7 separate regions of the Homo sapiens genome follow, and all the other regions are linked to region 3. The links are contacts of gene promoters, found by promoter capture Hi-C in blood cells and fetal thymus (Javierre and others, 2016). All regions are on one chromosome and are shown on one strand. Each heading gives the region's core, a stretch centred on a gene start or on the middle of the fragment in contact. The rest is flanking DNA. Distances are from core to core; before and after follow the strand shown. Region 1 has its middle 420 kb from the start of HGF. Region 2 has its middle 390 kb from the start of HGF. Region 3 holds the start of SEMA3C (semaphorin 3C). Region 4 has its middle 370 kb from the start of HGF. Region 5 has its middle 400 kb from the start of SEMA3C. Region 6 holds the start of GNAT3 (G protein subunit alpha transducin 3). Region 7 has its middle 410 kb from the start of SEMA3C.

Evidence for each region. The method cuts DNA at HindIII sites, captures the fragments that hold promoters and counts their contacts. A CHiCAGO score of 5 or more calls a contact.
Region 1: a contact is called between a fragment that was not itself captured here and the fragment with the promoter of SEMA3C in region 3, in 2 of 17 cell types (neutrophils and erythroblasts). The highest score is 7.8, in neutrophils.
Region 2: a fragment that was not itself captured here is called in contact with the fragment with the promoter of SEMA3C in region 3 in 2 of 17 cell types (erythroblasts and neutrophils); the score reaches 6.0 in erythroblasts.
Region 4: a fragment that was not itself captured here is called in contact with the fragment with the promoter of SEMA3C in region 3 in 2 of 17 cell types (neutrophils and erythroblasts); the score reaches 7.1 in neutrophils.
Region 5: a fragment that was not itself captured here is called in contact with the fragment with the promoter of SEMA3C in region 3 in 1 of 17 cell types (neutrophils); the score reaches 7.0 in neutrophils.
Region 6: the fragment with the promoter of GNAT3 here is called in contact with the fragment with the promoter of SEMA3C in region 3 in 1 of 17 cell types (M0 macrophages); the score reaches 7.1 in M0 macrophages.
Region 7: a contact is called between a fragment that was not itself captured here and the fragment with the promoter of SEMA3C in region 3, in 1 of 17 cell types (endothelial precursors). The highest score is 5.3, in endothelial precursors.

Annotation. Positions count from the first base shown.
Region 1 is chr7:81,353,101-81,355,870 of GRCh38, forward strand. No RefSeq gene overlaps it. Among named protein-coding and RNA genes, the nearest start is that of HGF, 420 kb to the right of the region's middle. RefSeq lists an enhancer at 965-2,164. The HindIII fragment of the contact is 2,639 bases long and covers 29-2,667 here.
Region 2 is chr7:81,376,269-81,378,968 of GRCh38, forward strand. No RefSeq gene overlaps it. Among named protein-coding and RNA genes, the nearest start is that of HGF, 390 kb to the right of the region's middle. The HindIII fragment of the contact is 157 bases long and covers 1,178-1,334 here.
Region 3 is chr7:80,917,627-80,920,506 of GRCh38, forward strand. It overlaps SEMA3C (semaphorin 3C), which reads right to left and starts at 1,425. Exons shown (of 18, transcript NM_006379.5): 1 at 1,202-1,425. RefSeq lists an enhancer at 945-1,014 and a silencer at 1,562-1,691. The HindIII fragment of the contact is 5,149 bases long and covers 1,064-2,880 here.
Region 4 is chr7:81,394,409-81,397,108 of GRCh38, forward strand. No RefSeq gene overlaps it. Among named protein-coding and RNA genes, the nearest start is that of HGF, 370 kb to the right of the region's middle. The HindIII fragment of the contact is 1,803 bases long and covers 482-2,284 here.
Region 5 is chr7:81,313,178-81,315,877 of GRCh38, forward strand. No RefSeq gene overlaps it. Among named protein-coding and RNA genes, the nearest start is that of SEMA3C, 400 kb to the left of the region's middle. The HindIII fragment of the contact is 4,398 bases long and covers 1-2,700 here.
Region 6 is chr7:80,510,799-80,513,498 of GRCh38, forward strand. It overlaps GNAT3 (G protein subunit alpha transducin 3), which reads right to left and starts at 1,266. Exons shown (of 8, transcript NM_001102386.3): 1 at 1,011-1,266. The coding sequence starts at 1,128. It overlaps LOC107986812 (a long non-coding RNA gene), which reads left to right. Exons shown (of 3, transcript XR_001745252.2): 3 at 2,247-2,700. The HindIII fragment of the contact is 5,637 bases long and covers 1,061-2,700 here.
Region 7 is chr7:81,329,917-81,332,616 of GRCh38, forward strand. No RefSeq gene overlaps it. Among named protein-coding and RNA genes, the nearest start is that of SEMA3C, 410 kb to the left of the region's middle. The HindIII fragment of the contact is 2,345 bases long and covers 215-2,559 here.

The DNA of each region.
Region 1 (2,770 bases), core at 98-2,597, 440 kb after region 3:
AAAGACTGTATCTTTCCTTCATTTATGAAGCTTAGTTTTCCTGGATAAAAAATTTCTTGGCTGATAATTTTTTTGTTTAAAGAGTCTAAAGATAGGACCCCAATCCCTTCTAGCTTGCAGAGTTTCTGCTGAGAAATCTGTTGTTAATCTGATAGGTTTTTCTTTACAGGTTACCTGATGCATTTGCCTCACAGCTGTTAAGATCCTTTCCTTCATCTTGACTTTAGGTAAGCTGATGACTATGTGGCTAGACAATGGTCTTTTCGGGATGAATTTCCCAGATGTTCTTCGGGCTTCTTGTATTTGGATGTCTAGATCACTAGCAAGATCAGGGAAGTTTTCCTTAATTATTCCCTCAAATATGATTTCCAAACTTTTGGATTTCTCTTCCTTTTTGGGAACACCAATTATTCTTAAATTTGGACGTTTAACATAGTCCCAATTTCCTGGAGGTTTTCTTTTTAAATTATTTTTTCTTTGTCTTTGATGGATTGAGTTAATTTGAAAGCCTTGTCTTTGAGTTCTGAGGTTCTTCCTTCTGCTTTTTCGATTCTATTGCTGAGACTTTTCAGTGCATTTTGCATTTCTCTAAGTGTGTCCTTGATTTCCAGAAATTGTGATTGTTTTTATTTATGCTATCTATTTGACTGAAGAATTTTCCTTTAATATCCTGTATCATGTTTTTGACTTCAAGTTGGACTTCACCTTTCTCTTGTGCCTCTTTGATTAGCTTAATAATCAACCTTCTGAATTCTCTTTCTGACTGTTCAGAGATTTTTGTCTTGGTTTGGATCCATTGCTGGTGAGCTGGTATGATCTTTTGGGGCTGCTAAAGAACCTTGTTTTGTCATACTACCAGAATTGTTTTCCTGTTTCCTTCTCATTTGAGTAGACGATGTCAGAGAGAAGATCTGGAATACAAGGGCTGCTGTTCACATTATTTTGTCCCACAGGGTGCTCCCTTGATATGGTGCTCTCCCCCTTCTCCTAGGAATGGTGCTTCCCAAGAGACAAACTGTAGTTATTGTTTCTGCTCTTCTAGGTCTAACCACCCAGCAGAGTAGCGGACTCCAAGCTGAAACTGGAGAATGTCTGCAATGAGTCTTTTGATATGATCCATCTTCAGGTCTTGCAACTGTGGATACCAGCACCTGCTGCAGTGGAGTCAGCAAGGGAGTGAAGTGGACTCTTTGAGAGTCCTTGGTTGTATTCTTGTTTAGTGTGCTGGTTTTGTGTTGGTTGGCCTCTAGCCAGGAAGTGGAACTTTCAATAGCTCATCAGCTGTGGTCCTATATGCAGGATGCACAGTTGCCCTAGGGACACCTAGTTAAGTATTCAGATTTGTCAGGCAATGGGCAGGGCCATAGGGCACCCAAGAGATTATGACCTTTGTCTTCAGCTACCAGGGTGAGTTGAGAAAGACCCCAGGTGAACGCAGGGATAGGTGTGTCTGAGCTCAGCCTTTTCTTGGGCAGGGCTTGCTGCTGCTGCTGTGGGTGTGGTTCCCAAATTCAAGGGAGTTATATTCCCAGGAATATTGTGTCTCCCTCTGCTGAGTCATATAGGTCACCAGGGAAGTGGGGGAAAGCCAGCAGTCACAAACCTAACCCCACTCCCACACAACCTACAGTCCTAAAGGCCATGCCCACTCCCATGGTGCCCCAACAACAGTACCTTGTCATCCAGTGAACAGGGCTGAGAACTTGTCCCAGACCATGAGCCTCCCCATTGAGAAAGCAAGCAGACTCACACTTTTTCAGCATCTCAGGGAGCCTGCAGTAGCGATGCAGCTCCTTCAAAACGTTGTGGATTCTCGCGGCTTTCCTGGTATGTTCCTGCAGTAGTTCTTGGAGAAAAAATTCACAATGTGAGTCTTTGCACGCTGCTCTGTTCATCGGAGCGGAAGCTACAAGCTAGTTCTGCCTCGATTTTCCAGGACTTCTTATCTGTCTTCTGTTCTCACATACTCTGCACCACACATAGGTGACTGAATCTATTCTCAAGGCTCTAGGACTGCCATTGTTTTTCTGTTCCTGGTCATTACACCCATTTCAGACCACACTATTTACTTGGTTCTATTCTGGATCTTTTTTTGACTTTTCAAGACTCCAAAAATCCTGCCTAGAGACACTCACCCATTCTAGACTATAGATGCAAATCTCTGCATGGAAAAAGAACACAACTGCAAGAAATAGAAGGAAAAATTTATTTTGCTATCATCACAACTAAGTGTTTATTATTAAACCAATATTTAAATTTAAGTCAACTCCATAAACATTTTTTAAATATTTTCTTTATGCTAGGCATAACGGTAGAAATAAAAATATACATTATCACTGCTCAAAGAGTATGCAGTTTAAAATGAAGATTTGCAAGTAGAATACTGAATTGCTATTTAGGCTTATGCATGTGGAAAAAAAAAAAAAGAAAAAGAAAGCAATATCTAAGGTATCCAGGTGTAGCACCAGAGAAGCACCAATCTACTCTATCTGCAGATAGAATTCAGTTCAAAGTGGAATTGACTCATTATGCCTCGAATTTTTTCATGCATTTCTAATAATTTTATTTAAACATTAAAAAAATTTAAGTAGAGAAAAAAAATATAGTTCTTAGAAATGTCCTCTAAATTTGTCTTACAGGTCGTTGACAAACCACTAGGAAAACTGAAGCTTAATCATTACCTTGATAGAATGTTCATCCTTATAATTTTGCTCTAGATCATGAGAAATACACTTACTGAAACACATTTCTAATTTTTTTAAATGCCAAG
Region 2 (2,700 bases), core at 6-2,505, 460 kb after region 3:
ATCCCTCTGGTCCTGGACATTTTTGTTGTTGTTGGTAACTTTTAATTGCCATTTCAATCTCATGGCTTGTTATTGGTCTGTTCAGAAATTCTATTTCTCCCAGGTTTAATCTAGGAAGGTTGTATATTTCCAGGAACTTATCCATATCTTCAAGGTTTTCTAGTTTATGCATGTAAAGGTGTTCATAGTAGCCTTGAATGACCTTTGTATTTCTGTGGTATCAGTTGTAATATCTCCTGTTTTATTTCTAACTGAGCTTATTTGAATCTTCTCTCTTCTTTACTTGGTTAATCTTATTAATGGACTATCAATTTTATTTATCTTTTCAAAGAACCAGTTTTTTGTTTTATTTATCTTTTGTATTTTTTGTTTCTTTGTTTGTTTCAATTTCATTTAGTTCTGCTGTGCTCTTGGTCATTTCTTTTCTTCTGCTGGGTTTGGGTTTGGTTTGTTCTTGTTTCTCTAGCTCCTCGAGATGTGACCTTAGATGGTCTATTTGTGCTTTTTCCAGACTTTCTGATGGAGACATTTAATGCTACAAATTTTCCTGTTAGCACTGCCTTTACTGTATCCAAGAGGTTTTCATAGATTGCGTCACTATTGTCATTCAGTTTAAATAATTTCAATTTTCCATCTTGATATCATTCTTGACCCAGTGATCATTCAGGAGCAGGCTATTAATTTCCACGTATTTGCATGGTTTTGAGGGTTCCTTTTGGAGTTGATTTCCAATTTTATTCCACTGTGATCTGAGAGAGTACTTGATGAATTTTCAATTTTCTTAAATTTACTGAGACTTGTTTTGTGGTCTGTCATATGTTCTATCTTGGAGAATGTTCCATGTGCTGATGAATAGAATGTATATTCTACAGTTGTTGCGTAGACTGTTCGGTAAATATCTGTTAAGTCCATTTGCTGTAGGGTATAATGTAAGTCCATTGTTTCTTTGTAGACTTTCTGTCTTGACCTGTCTAGTGCTGTCAGTGGAGATATAGAGCTCCAAAATTGTACATTAAGTTCCCCTTAAGTATTCTGCTTGAGAGTAGATTATATATTTACAGGAGGAGACTTTACAAAGCCTTGTGAAGAGCAACTACTGGGAAGAACTTATTTTAAGAAGTTCGTTATTAACTGAAACAAACAACATGTATAGAACTGTAAGCTGAACAACTACCTAAGCTTGGAAAAGGCCGGTAATGTTGAATAATGACTTTCCAAAGTGGAGAGACCTCACTGGAAACCCAGATCATTAAGTACTTGTCTCCGAAAGTCCATACCTTAAGAGTAGGGCTAATCTGTCCTAGATTAAAAGCTACTACGAACCACCATAATCAAGCTTGAAAAACAAGCTTCAAAGAGAGTAAGCTGATTTACAAGTAAATTCACTGACTTTCAGAAAAAAACCCAGTGTTCTATTAAGACAATAAAACTCAAATATTGAACGATGCAGTACATATAACTATATTCAACCATACACAATAAAAAATAGACATGCATAAAAGTAGGAAAATGTAATATATAACAGGAGAAAAAATCGATCAATAAAAATAGAGGCAGATACAATAGATGATGGAATATTAAATAATAATTTTAAAGATACCAATATACTGAAGCATCTCAATGATTACATTGCATATAAATTCATTAGAACTTTCAACTCTTAGACTGGATAATAAACAAACAGAACACAATTATGTGATGTTTTCAAGAAATTCGTTTTAAAAATGAAAAGGTGAAACAACAAATGTCATGTACATGCTGACCATAAGAAAGCTGGAATAGCATAGCAATATCAAAGTAGACTCTTTACAAGGAATACTTCTAGAAACAGATGTTTTATACTAATGATAAGAGAGTAAACTTATCAATAATACCTAACACTCCTAAATATATATGTCATGTAATAGGAGTTTCAAAACATATAAAGAAAAAGCTGACAGAACTACAAAGGAAAATAGAGAAATCTACAACTGTCATTGGAGAGTGGAATACTATTTTCTTAGTAATGAATGGAGAAACTAAACACAAAATTAGTAAGGAAATGAAAGACTTATATAATATTATAGGACTATTTGAACTTGTAGAAATCAACAGGACACTGCATCCCTAAACAGGAAAATATTCATTCTTTCATGTGTACATTGAAGATTCCCTAAGACAGACCATGTGCTGGGCCATAGCAAAAATATCAAAACAAATTAAATATTTTGAGATCATCCAGATCATCACATTTTGAGTATAGCCTCTGAACATAATGGGATTCATTTAGAAATCATTGACAAAAAGGATATTTGGAATATCTACAAATATTTGGAAATTAGGCAACAGAATTTCAAATAACATAAGGGTCAAACAAAATTAGGTAGGAAATATTTTAAAATATTTTAAATGTAAATGAGAATACTATATACCAAATGTGTAGGCTGTATTTAAAACTATGCACAGTGAGTATAAATAGCACTAAATGCCAGGAAAAATAATTTCAAATTGGATGAAAGGAAGGTGATAGTAAAGACATGAGCAAAAGTCAATACATTAGAAAACAGAAAAACAAGAGAGAAATATATCGAATATCAATTAATTGAAAATATTAATAAAATTGATAAACATTTAGCTCCACTCGAAAAAAGAAGAGTGAAATTAAAAGTTATCATTATCAGTAAATAAAGAGAAGCATCACCATAGATAATATAGAAATTA
Region 3 (2,880 bases), core at 175-2,674:
TGAATCCCAAGGAAGACCAGATAATGTGTTACCATAAACCTACAGGAGCTCTAGTGGCTACATCATGTAAAATAAACTCAGGACCATTAAAGAAACACAATCATTTTGCTTCTACCATAATTACACAATAAAGTGACCCAAGAGTCCAGTAAAGAAATTTATTTTTACAGGTTACAACAATGCTGATCTTCATTATTTGGCTTTTCAAATTAAAATTTCATAGTCAAAATTATTAAATTCTTTGTAAGAACCACTAACAACTGAAAAAGACAGCTTCATTAATACAGAATAAAAAGAATTAAATGGAATATGCAATTTTAAACAAAAATTGTAAGTAGATTTCCTAGGTGGTGCATATGTTATGAGAGTTAGAAATGAAATTGTACGCTTCTTTTACCACACAGATGGAGGAAACTCTAGAGATGTTTGTGTTGGTAATTTTCAAAAGAAACAGTTTCTTCCTGCTTCCACAACCTCTTCACCCTGTCATCCCTAAATTAACTTAGAAAGAAACTGATTTTATGGGTGACTTTCCCTCAGTAATTTACCCCTTGGTTCTGTTGACTTCATAGTTAAAGCCAAAAGAAAAAAACTATTAATATGCCTAACCTTTGTTATGTTTACTGAGCAAGTTGATATTATTTACACATTTTTTTTACATATTGGTATCTTACCTTATATGTTTCTCCCAAAAGTACATATACAACCAATTGCAAAGAATACTGGTGATACAATGGCAGGTGAAACGAAGATAGTCTACAGGGCAATTTGATTTACATCCCACCTAGTGATGAGGAGTGAAAGACTGAAAGCCAAGTGTCTTAAATACACCCCCGCCTCCCCAACAGTATCTTACAACTTCTTCCCTTTAACTCAGACACAGACGTTCCTCTTGGTGTTTTCACTTCTGCTGATCGCAAACTAACAACACATTAAGAAAAGAATTCTCTTATCTCCTCTGGAGCAATTTTGCCTTTGAAGGCACTGTAATACTCAACTTGAAACTCTCCGCAGGTGTCACCGCCTAAAGAAACAACTCGAGCAGGGCTCTCAGCAAGGGGAAAGCTTCCCTGACAAACCGCGTGTGTTCTTAAGAAAATGTCCAGGCTTGAGCATACCAATGTATGAAAAATCAATATACAGGCCAAAAAAGTTATACTTTGCTAAATCTGTAATGCGGAAAATGACCAATTTAGCTTACCGAGGTTGAAAGAAATCAGCACGGAAAAGTCATCAGTTTGCTACCGGGGTTGGATGCGCTTGTGTCTCCAGTCCTTTTCCCAGACGACCTTATTTTCTAGCACGTCGCAAAGGTGAAATTCTTTCTTCCCGGTCCTCTGAGTTTCTTTGTAAAGGAATCTCAGCGCTGCAGTGCCGCGGCACCCGGAGCTCTTCTCCGCGTCGCTCAATCAAGCACCTCGGAGTGAATGGAAAGTGGCCGGAGGCCGGGGGCGAGCGCTCTTGGTGTCCGATTACAGCGCCGCGGCGCGCGGCTCCGGCTGCCCCGGCGCGCCGCCCTGCAGGCTCGCATCACCACCGCGCAGCCCCGGCCGCATCTCCGCCAGCCGCGAGGCCCCACCCCGAGCGCGCCCGCGAGAGCCTGGCAGGGAGCCGCGGGGGCGGACCGGGCGGGGCCGACCCTTAGAGCTCGCGGCTGGCCAGACGCAAGAATGCGCGGCCGCAGGCTGGAGCCCTAGCTCCGCAACCCTGCTCCTTTCGCAGTCCGCGGCGGAGTGAGCAACTTGCTGGGTGCGCTCCACGGTTTTTGTTGCCGGCGGCTCTCGAAGACTTACACAGGCTTTGCCTGGCCGTAAATATCAAAGTGCAAAGCAGTTGTGGTTTTTTATTTTTGCCAGGGAAGGATCACTGCAGCCTTTTAAGGCAAAGAGATGCGTTTTTAAAAGGACGTGAGTTTTGTCCTTATTCTGCTGCGTTTTTTTTTTGTTTTTTGTTTTTTGTTTTTTGTTTTGTTTTTGGAGAGGGAATCTCACTCTGTCGCCAGGCTGGAGTGCAGTGCAGTGGTGTGATCATGGCTCACTGCAACCTCCGCCTCCCGGGTTCAAGCGATTCTCCTGCCTCAGCCTCCTGAATAGCTGGGACTACAGGCTCCCACCACCACGCCCAGCTAATTTTTGTATTTTTAGTAGAGACAGGGCCAGGATGGTCTGGATCTCTTGACCTAATGGTCCGCCCGCCTCAGCCGCCCAAAGTGCCGAGAGCCACCGCGCCGGGCCTCTGTTGCGTGTTTTCTAAAACAGGTCAAGATAAACGACAATCTTGTTGCACAAGTGTATCCTTTTAATGGGTATTGTTTCCTATTGAGTTTCCTTAATGCCCTGAAAGCAGTAATTCTGTTGACCCCTCCACGTTGACTCATATCCAGTACGTTGTCCCCAACCATACTCCCAAACATAATTACACGAAGAAATTATTTGACAATTCTATGTGGAGAGGCTGTTCTGAGTTATGCCAACAGATTGCCATAACCACACATCTACAGAAATACATCAGAGGTATTTTTCCAGCATTACTTTCAGGTACACTCGTTAAACTCTGGAACTGACTTTGATGTTTAAGTGAAAATTACTTCTCCGGACCACAATAAACTAGATGTTTAAACATCGGGAGAAATGAGCTTTGATCCCCATAAAACAAGCAGGCACTTGCTTAAAATCACTGTGGGGCACAGCCCAGCAGATGTCACTCTACAGAAGGAACGTGGAGTGTAATATCTCCACCTTATACCTGACAATTCACATAATGAAACAATCATTAAATTCTTATAAACTGTATCATAGAAAACCCCTCTGGGGGTGCAAAATCATTGTTCAGTGGGAAAGTTGAATGAAATCTCAGGTAGGAGGAAGAGGTGAGTGAGAC
Region 4 (2,700 bases), core at 133-2,632, 480 kb after region 3:
AAACAAAGTTCTCAACCATTTTTTCTATTATTACCATGAGAAATTCATCTTCTAGAATGATCTGAACTCAGTACTCATTCACGTGTGCACATTTCAAGCACAGACTTCTGCATCTATGTTTGTAATCTTAGATGTACACACATACATATAAATATATACATAAATGATATAAAGTTTAATGAAATGAAATTTCCTTACATTTTTTATAAGTGATACACGAATATTTTCTATTCTATTCCATTCTTCTTATTTTTAAAGTTTAGTTTTTTAAGCTAAAGTGTTTTAAAGATCATTAAGCTAATTCCACAAATTGCTAGTGGCTTATAACCCACAATTAGTAAAATGGCTGTGCATATTCTGATAACATGTATGAGTAAATAAAGAAAGAAATGAATAATGGAAAAAAAGAGAGAGGGAGGAAATAAGGAGAGAAAGAAGAAGGAAGAGAAACATCTCTCTGAATACAAATATATGCTCTCTAAGCTTCTGAAAATAGAAAATATATGGAAGGGTACAAATCAACATTAACAATGATTACCTTAGTGAGGTGAGAGTGAGGATTGAAAAGGCATGAGTGTCTTTTATATTTGTGGTTTAAAATCCAATATTTGTATATGTGTGTATATACAAAAACATATATTATTTTTACATATATGCATACTATATATGTATATACACATATAGAGACAAATAAAAGTACAATATTTATGTTTATATGGAGAGAGAGAGACAGAGATATGGGGAAAGAGAGACAGAAAACTTCTAATTGTTAAATTTATTATGCTTCAATAGAATTTGAAAAACAACAACATACAATACAGGCTGTCACTTTTGCAAAGTTTAATAAACATCTTATGAAACCACATAACAGCAACCAACTTCCTGACAAAAATTAGGATGGAGGCTTTTCTTTCATGTTAAAGAGAAAGAATCCAAGAGTGAGAAAGGTGATCGTGGAGAGTTCTGGTGAATACGTATAATACATCTCACTAATGATAATATACACCAAGAGTGTGTGATTCGCTCAAGTCCACTTATTTAGTGTCAGAAAAGTATCTACAAACAGATTTACTAATTCTCATTCTAATGTTTTCGTTTTTTTTTAACTTCGTCACTGAAGAATGACTAAGATTTATCTGAATTATATAATAGGTTGTTCCCTAAAGCATTTTTGTTGATTTTTTTTTGAATTATGACCCACTATTACTTATAAGGTCATGCCGAATATAGTGGGATGTAAATTGAAAGCATCGAAGTTCGGCACAGTGGCTGGGGACTAATCCCAGAGACTAGAGAGGCTTAGCCAGGAGGATTGCTTGAGCCCAGGAGGTTGAGGCTGCCGTGAGCTATGATCATGTCTCTGTACTGCATCCTGGGTGACAAAGAGAGGTTTCATCTCTAAAAGACAAAACAACAACAACAAGAAGACCACCAAGAATACTTTAAAATTGACCTATGTATCAGAAGTGACCAAATTCGTACTAAAAATTTCCAAATCCACATGAATAAATTTACAATAACTCAGTAAACTCAGCCACTTATTTATATAGTCATTGTAGAATCATTTATTTCAAAATATTTTTAATTCTTGAATTGAATGCTTGCTTATATGGATGTAAATCTTCCAATACAGAATGATTAAGTCAATATTAAAAATATTTCTATGTGAAGATATTTTAATGTATATTCCTTAGTTGTTTGCCAATGTGTTGCTATTTTTGAAAGTGTCTAGCTCAGTTACATAAGCAATAAGTGAGTGAGTGAGAGAAAGTAGGTGAATGTGAATTAACTTGACAACACTCCTTTTATTCTTTCTTTCTAGAAATAAGTTATAAAACCACTAAGGTAGGAAGAAATTTTGACCAGTGCAGACAGCTTCTTATTTTAGTGTTTTGTAATTCCTCTAACCTAATTTGTCTTTTATTCTCTCTAAAGGCAGAGTTCTAAGATGAACTTTCCTTCTTGTTTGAACTACATATGTTTACATGAATTACCTGATCGTATTATCTTGGAATCAGAAAAAAAACCTTTATCTCACTTTACCTTTATCTTTATCTCACTTTTAAGTTGTGTTGCATTTTGTAACCACTTTATGCAGTGTCAGTCAAATATTAAGTTCTCCACAAATATTTGTTAAATTAATGAATTAGTGATGATTACTTGGTTTCTTAAATGGACTGTGGATAGGCAGATGAGTAATTAGTAGCCCCTAGCTGAATCTATTTCCAGAGGACTTTCTAGAAGTTACATTAGTACAGAACTTAATTTATTTTCTAAGAAGCAAAGCTTTTGTGGCTCTTTCAATTATGCAATTTTAAGGTATGAAATGTTCTATTATTCTGGAAGAATCAGGTAATAAGATAAATTTTAATGTTATTGGATTTTGTTTTTAGCAAGGCAAACACCTGGGCCTTAAAGTATGTATGCGCATATAGTCTTGATACCTATTTCCCACATCCACCGGTTTGGAACATTTTTTAAGAATACTAGAAAAGTAGTGAGAAATTCTTATGGAGGCTAAGAGTTCTGCAGCAAAAAAGAGGCTGAGGATCTCCTCCTTTCCCCTTTAAATTTCTAATTCATTACTTAATTTCTATTGTAAGGGATTGGTCCCAGCTGATCACACTGGAAGGAAAGTAAGATCCCAGGAGAACCTCAGTTTAAGGGAAGGAGTTAAAACCCTTGCCTGGGCTTTCAAGA
Region 5 (2,700 bases), core at 132-2,631, 400 kb after region 3:
TCTACTACATACTTGAAATTTGCTAAAAGAGTAGATTTTAAATAATCTCACCACAAAAAGAAAAAAGGTAACTATGTGAATTGAACAGTATGTTAATTAGCCTGATTGTGGTAATCAATTCACCATATATATATACCAAAACATGTTGTGTAACTTTATTGCCTACAATTTTATTTGCCAATTGTACCTGAATAAAGCTGGAAAAGTAATGAGATAAAAGAAAAGATATACACTGAAACTATCCGGAAAGGTAGATTACACTTAAGTACTCAAAAATGTTAGCTGTTATTATTATTTTTCTTTACAAATACATTGCTCATGTCCATAATTTATTTTAAGATAAAGTGCATCTGTATATCACTGTTATCATAGCTGTCTATGTTATCAAGCAAGATTTATGATTAGTGAATTTCAGAATCTGCCCAAACGCTATGTTATTTTGTTTCAAAATAAATGTTCTATAACTTACTCATTGAGAGAAAAATTTATTTGAAAAATGTAAAGTATAGAAGAACAAAAAATAGGATGCTATCTTTCTATTATAAAAACAGAAAATAAGATTATACATGTATATATGTGTTTATTTTTTGTATGCATGCATAAACACACACACATATGCATACGCACTCAAGAAGGAAAAGACTAAACAATGATACGTGATAATGGGGATGAGAACAAGACTCATAGAATATTATATTTTTCAACATAATTTTGACATTAGAACTATGTACATTTTACACATTTGAAATATAAAAGTTATAAAAAGAAAAAAATGCAGTTAATAAGTAACATAACCATGCAAGAGAATACATTATTATTTGAGGTAACTTTACAACATTGTGCTAACATGACTGTATCTGAAGCCAAATATTCTATAGTGAGATATACTCTATTACTTGAAATAACAGTTATTGTATGTTAGAGATACACCCAATAATTAGATACCTAAATCTCTTACTTGTGTCAAAATATTATGTTTTAAAATATTATGATGTTTACTTGTGTCAAAATATTATGATGTTTTAATCTTTTACTTGTGTCAAAATATGATGATGTTTTAAAACTTTTACTTGTGTCAAAATATTATGATGTTTTCATATTATGATGTTTTGTGCTAACATGACTGTACCTGAAGGCAAATATTCTATAGTGAGATATACTCTATTACTTGAAATAACAGTTATTGTAGGTTAGGGATATGCTCAATAATTAGATACCTAAATATTTTACTTGTGTCAAAATATTATGTTTTTAAGTTGGAGATTAGCCCCTACGATTTCTTAATAATAAAATGACATGTAAATGGCTCAAACTTTCCTAACACTTGATTTTCTTCACTTTATGGAAAAAGATATTGATTATAAATATCTTATTTATTGATATAAATTGATATAAATTAAGTCATATGTTAAAACCACGTTAAATGTTACTACAAAATATGACGCAAAGTATTTTTCTGGTACTGAATGCGATCAAAATAACAAAAGGGGCATTGAATTCCATTTGCACTCTTTCCCATGTTGGAACTTAGTTTTACTCTTTTGATTAAAATATTTGTTGGCTTTGAATTTAAAATGACACTGAATATAGTTTCAGTGAGATTTTTTTCCTAATTTCTTGATCAACTTATTTCCCTAAATCCATAGTTGTCTTGTGGAGATCGTAAACACCTGCAGCCATTTCCAAGAACTATACTTTTGAGTTAAGGCCTCCAAACTAGAAAATATATGGATTTCTGATCAAACTGTCATTCTAAGTTTGTACATTTTTGGCCACTCTTGCTTCAAATATAAGCAATAATAGGTAAAATACCTAAGGGAAAAATCAGAATGACATAGTTTTCTTTTACAAAACAAAAAAAAAAAAATCAAAGTACCATGAACAAACAAGGAAAACTACAGAATACAAAGTACATGAGTGTATATAACATAATTATCACATATATGTTAGATAATAGCAATGTTACATGTAATGGACAATAAGATATACTGAAATGGTAATTCATAAAGCCGTTCTAGTCCAGTTTTATTATAACTTAATGTGTCCTTTTGGTGAAAGGGATTTTTACTAGACCGTCTGTCCAAGTCTTAAACTAGAGAGCATTGTCTGTGTTTTTTTTTTTCTTTTTTCTTTTTTTCTTTTTTTTTATTATTATTATACTTTTAAGTTTTAGGGTACATGTGCACATTGTGCAGGTTAGTTACGTATGTATACATGTGCCATGCTGGTGCGCTGCACCCACTAACTTGTCATCTAGCATTAGGTGTATCTCCCAATGCTGTCCCTCCCCCCTCCCCCCACCCCACAACAGTCCCCAGAGTGTGATATTCCCCTTCTCAATTTTTGAGACAAATTTCTCAATTTCTTATTCACTTTCAATAAATTGTATAGTAATAAATTACTTTTGATTTATTAGGAAATTATTGAGAATATAATATTGCTTAGGATCAGGAAGAAATAATTCAGAGAGAAAGAGTTTATACCTGTGAATGACAATAGAGATGGTTGGAACTTTGATTTCATAATTTCAAAACATCTTATAAAATCTATAAAATATAGGAATGGAGATACTTTTTTTCTCTTGGTTAAAAAAAAAATTCAGTTTTTAAAGTAACAAATTCCACAACAAAAATTTTAGGAATTACAACGTAATTAAAAAAATAGAAAAAAGTTTTCATATTTTCTTTCAGTCTTTTAAAA
Region 6 (2,700 bases), core at 16-2,515, 410 kb before region 3:
GAAGGAATACTTAAATAAGTTTAAGTATTTAATTCATTTAATATTAAGTATTTAAGTGTTTAAATACTTAAAATATGAGGAAATTTGTTATGTGAAATATGCACGATTCTGAAATAAGATGAAGTCCTTTTGTGTATAACCAAAATCAGGGAGAAAGTACAACTCATAATTGAATCAGAAGTAAGTGCTTGCTTTGTATTCTTTATATAGGTCATCATTTTTATTTCAAAAACATATTTCTGTTTCAGTGAAACTGCATGTAAAATGTTTTATGCTTTATAGAAAAAATCTGCATATGGATTATTTTTATTCTTTCAATTAATTGAACATTTATTGAATTTATAGTCAAGGTAAAACAGTGCTGAGTTTTGAAAGAAGGAAAAAAAAATAAAAGAGACATAAATCCTGACCTGAATGAATATATAAATGCTCTAAAAGGATTTAGGTAGAGTATTTTTCAAGTGTACAGGCAATATTGCAGGCAGTATTCAGGAGCCTAAGTAATATTGTTAATATAATTTAAAGTACCTTATCATTGTTCTCTAACTTGACTAATTGATTTTTAACTATACAAGTAAATAACAAACATTAACTTCAACGTCAAACAATTCAACCTATTTCTGTTTAAACAAAATAATATAACTCTTTATAACTTGTAGCTAAAGGATTTCTTTCAGTATTAAAAAGCTGACATTCAGAAAATGATTAGGGTGCAATAAAATAATAAATGTATCTGATTTTTATTTTAATAATAGTAAACCATATTACTGACAGAGAAATTAGCTGATAAATATTTGCCTCCTTGCTTAACAAAAAGGTAATAAAATACTAAACAGAAAAATTATTAAATATTGATAGAGTACAAATAAATTTTCCTTAAGTTTCCAAACACATTTTTATAATAAATTTCCCATATGATAATACACTCGAAATTAAAGTCTGAGAAAAGTAAATATATCACAATTGAAAAAAAAGTCAGGTTTTTGAAAGCAAAAGGGAAAAGAAATTACCTAATAGTAGCAGCTTTACGGTTCTTGCATCTCGCTCAGCATCCTCCTGAAGCTTTTTCTCCAGTTCTTTTGATCTTTTGGCTGACTCCTTGCTCTCTGAACTAATTCCACTTCCCATCTTGTGGTGGTAGATACTTGTCAGTTTATATGTTCAGATTTTTCAAATGTTGAGCACAGCTGTGGTTTGGACATAGGAGGCAAGAGTAATGCTCTGCTGAAGTACCTAGCAGTCCATTCCCTAATGCTCTAAGATTCTGCTTTGACTAAGGAGATGCTTTCTCATCTGTCACCTGATCAGGTGGTAAAACCATACCCCCCTGATGGAGGCTAGAGAGGAAGTTCATTATGCTTTCAAATTAAATGACTGCTTCGGGCACATCTTCGAAAACAGGCTTATCTGCTTTATAGTATAAAATAATGTAGAAAGTTGTCAAAATCTATACACTAGAGATGATCTACAATAAGCAATTCAAATAGAATGTTTCTCACTACTGGGCAATTTTTATTACTGTGATTAAAAGTTATTATTACTAATCAGCGATGCTTACATCTTATCTTCAGATATTTGGCCCTTCAATTTCTTTATAATCACTCCTATATCACAATCAGAATATATACATGTAAGTTATCCAACTTTTATGGTCTACCTATGCTTAGATTATTACTTAAAGCTATTGAGCATCTATTAGCATCTGTCAGGGAACAAAAAAAATCTTTTTTTTAACAATGGATACAAATACATATAGTTTTTATATTTGTACATATTGTATTGCTACAAATATAAAATTCAACACAGTTTTCTTAAATTATTGATTTTAGTGTCATAGGATCCATCTCTATAAATTGAGCTTTTGCCGCCTGTGAGAAAGTCAATCCATCAACACTAATTGAGGGCCCACTTGGTGTAGACACTGAACTATGTTCAATTTAGGCAGCGCATTAACTCTTTAGGGCCATTAAGCAACAGCTGCTGTGCTGGAGGGACTCTTACTGATTTGGTACCAAGGGAATAAAAACCAATGTTCTTTGAAACAGCAGGTAATTTGGTTTTTCCTACAAACTAAAAACAGTAATTACACCTAAATAAGTTCCATAGCTTTCAACTACCCCAACAGATACCATGTACTTCTTGAAAATCTTCAGGATTGAGGGCAGAGATTATGTTGCACAATTTTTTATTTATATGAAGCATAAAGTGCTTGGTAGATAGTCAATCAATATTTTCCTTATGAACAGAGTCGGTTGCCTGTGGCACATCTTTCAGTGTGCATTTTGGGATTTGTGAATGTGCTTAACCAGAAAATGCCAGAATACAGTCAATCCACCAACCTGTCAGTGGTGCTCTTCTTGTGGGATCATGTGCAAAGTTTGAACAGGTGAGTTTTTACATATTCATGCAACAAGAAAATAGGCTGCCAGATTAAATACATAGTCCTGCTTTGTTTACTTTTTCCACATCAAAAATATTAGGCTGAAGATACATAAACATAGTCAAAACTTCCTGGGTTCCGTTCTTCCAAAGCCATATTATGATAGTATAAAGATGTGCAGTGGTGGATAGGCAAGGATTTGTGCAAATCATGTGGTATTGCTTTTACAATGCAAAGGGCCTGTCCCAAAGGAAGGAGATTTGCACGGCCTAATGCTCACCTGTGAACACAAAGTCCACTCTGAAAGCAACACTTAGCAC
Region 7 (2,700 bases), core at 137-2,636, 410 kb after region 3:
TTAGAAGGCTTAAATCACTGAAATGTAATTTCCACCATCACAAATAGTGGCCTAGATTTTATGATCAAGGGAATACATGGCATGCATAAGTAGAATGCTACTATGCATCCTGGAATCCACTGTATTTCATTATACTTATATTCTGTCTTACTGGCAGTCTTGGGCAAGCCTAAGTACACCTTTATTAACAAGTCAATAACATAGCTCTGTGTTAAGCTTTTGTATTGATCTAATATGGTTCACCCTGGTATGCCAAACAGGTCCACATTTCAAAACAACCTCTTTCTTAACTGTCTCTGATCTTGGGAGTCTCATGTGTAAAGTAATAGAAACATTTCTGGTTTTAGCAATGTAAAGGTCACACCTGCCACAATGAGGAAGCAGTATCTTGTTTTATGCGTATGAGAGCCAGAAGCAGGAAGGCATGGCCAGCATCATGACTAACCCATTGCTTTGTTTGGTAGAGCCACCTTTTTCCTTCTGGATCCCTTGCATCTTGGGTGCTTTTTTTATATGTACTGCATGTCCTTCTTGTGTTCAATTTTGCTGCTAGCTAATTCCTGACAATGGCTTAAACTATAATTGAGGAGGTAGCTGATGGAAATTAGATGATGAAATGAAAATGGGTAAAACAAATAACACTCACGTATTTTACATAGCAACAGTTAAATAAATTAAGTCAACTACTCAAAAAATATAAGGAAATTATGAAATGCATAGCTAGTTGCATTTATAGTTCTAAAAAAGAGAAATTCTCTCCGAGTTTCTACTAGCTCCGAAGTAAACTGAATCGATCTTACTCCATATAGTGAGTCCTATGGGTCTCTCCAGCTTCATATTAGATAATGGCAGCCCTGCTTTCCTATTAAAATGGAAGAATCTGATGTGACATTTATGCTTGTTTATTAACTAACTGCTGTAACAGAAACTCACTCATATAAAAGTGTTTATCAAATAAACTTTATTAGCTTTTAGCATAGTTGAGAATAAAAACCATGGCATTTGAGACAGTATTAGGTAACTGATTAAGGAACCTCATGAGAGATTATATTAGAAGGGAAAGTGGACTGGTTAGTTTTGTGGGGGAGAGAGTGGCCTGAAGTTGGTGGTATAATCCACTGACCATACAATAAGCCTAGACAACTGCCCCTGAATATAAATCCAATTTTTAAAATGTGATGTAGTACCCAAGAATAAGCCATAGCCTATCTTTCAAGTGATTTATTTATTTATTTGAAAAATCTGGCTGTTTTGGTTGGTTTTTCAAGGATAGAAAGACATGTATATCACTTTCTCCAGATTTGGAGTACCTCCCTTTCTGATTACATGTTTGCTTCGTAATCCTTTCCTCAAGAATGTCTGCTATTCTACTCTTAAAAACTTCCTGAATATTAACCCAAACCTCTCCTTTCTATGTTTTTTCAAAAAATTGCTAGAAGAGTTGTAATATTTGTATTATTATTTTACTACCCTAGCATTTCATAAATTGTGTTTATGGTTCAACATTTCTTATCTCTATCTTTTTTGCTATTTCAATCTCTAGTTACAAAGTTTGGAGGCATTCTCTTTTTTTAAGTAGAGATATTATAATATCAGCAAAATATTATCATTTCCATGGTGAGTCACAATGCCTCTAGGAATTCAGCAATTATAGTAAGTGGGTGAAGGAGGCCAGATGCTGATTGTGGTGATTTCAGAGCACCTTATCTAAAGAAGCAAAGCTCCAGATAATTTACAATCACACAGAAATGCTCAACCAGTACTGTTGCATCTGCAGGGATAGAAACAGAACCAATAGGATCTACCTCTCTATCTATCATCTGGCCAGCTTCCTGTCTATCTATCTGTCTGTCTATCTATCTATCTATCTATCTATCTATCTATCTATCTATCTATCATCTGTCAATCATCAAAGGGAAAGAGAGATATTTATTGCAAGGAATTGACTTACATAATTATGGGGATCTGCTTCTGTAAATTTGAGATCCAGAGGGTAGTCTGTCAAAGGGGCAGGCTGGAACTCTCCTGGAGAAGCTAATGCTTCAGTCTTGAGACAGAATTTCCTCTTGCTCAGGAATACCTCAGTTCTGCTCTTAAATTATTTCAACTGATTGAGCCAGTTTCTCCCAGATTATTGGGAATATTCTCCCTTACTTAAAGTTAAATGATTGTTGATCCTAATAAAATTTACCAAATATTTTCATAGCAACACCTAGATTAGTGTTTGATTAATAGGCTAAACATTTCAAAACAATATTTAAAAATCAGATGATTTGACATTTTAAAGTCAGGATTTTCAGTTTTTCTTGGAAAAACAGATTTGGCAACTGTGATGGTCAATTTTATGTTTCAGTTTCAAACAAAAGAAAACAAATTATTTTCCATTCAAATATGATGACTAACTGTCTTGGTTTGCCCAGGACTGAAATTGTCCTGGGTGAAACGAAATGGTTGATCTCCCTACATTCAAACAAAACATATCTCTTTTTAGACTGTGCCCATGAAGTTAAGGCCATCCTGAATTCCCATGAGATAAAGAGGTGCCTGTGGAACTAAATAAGCTTGAACAGAGATTATCGGTCTTATGCATATGTTGCATAAGACTTACTTTAGCATATGTTGGGGACAAAACATTTTTTCATCAATAACATTCCTGCTAGAATAATGGTATTGGTTAAGGTGGGCAGGGGATGAGGGTTT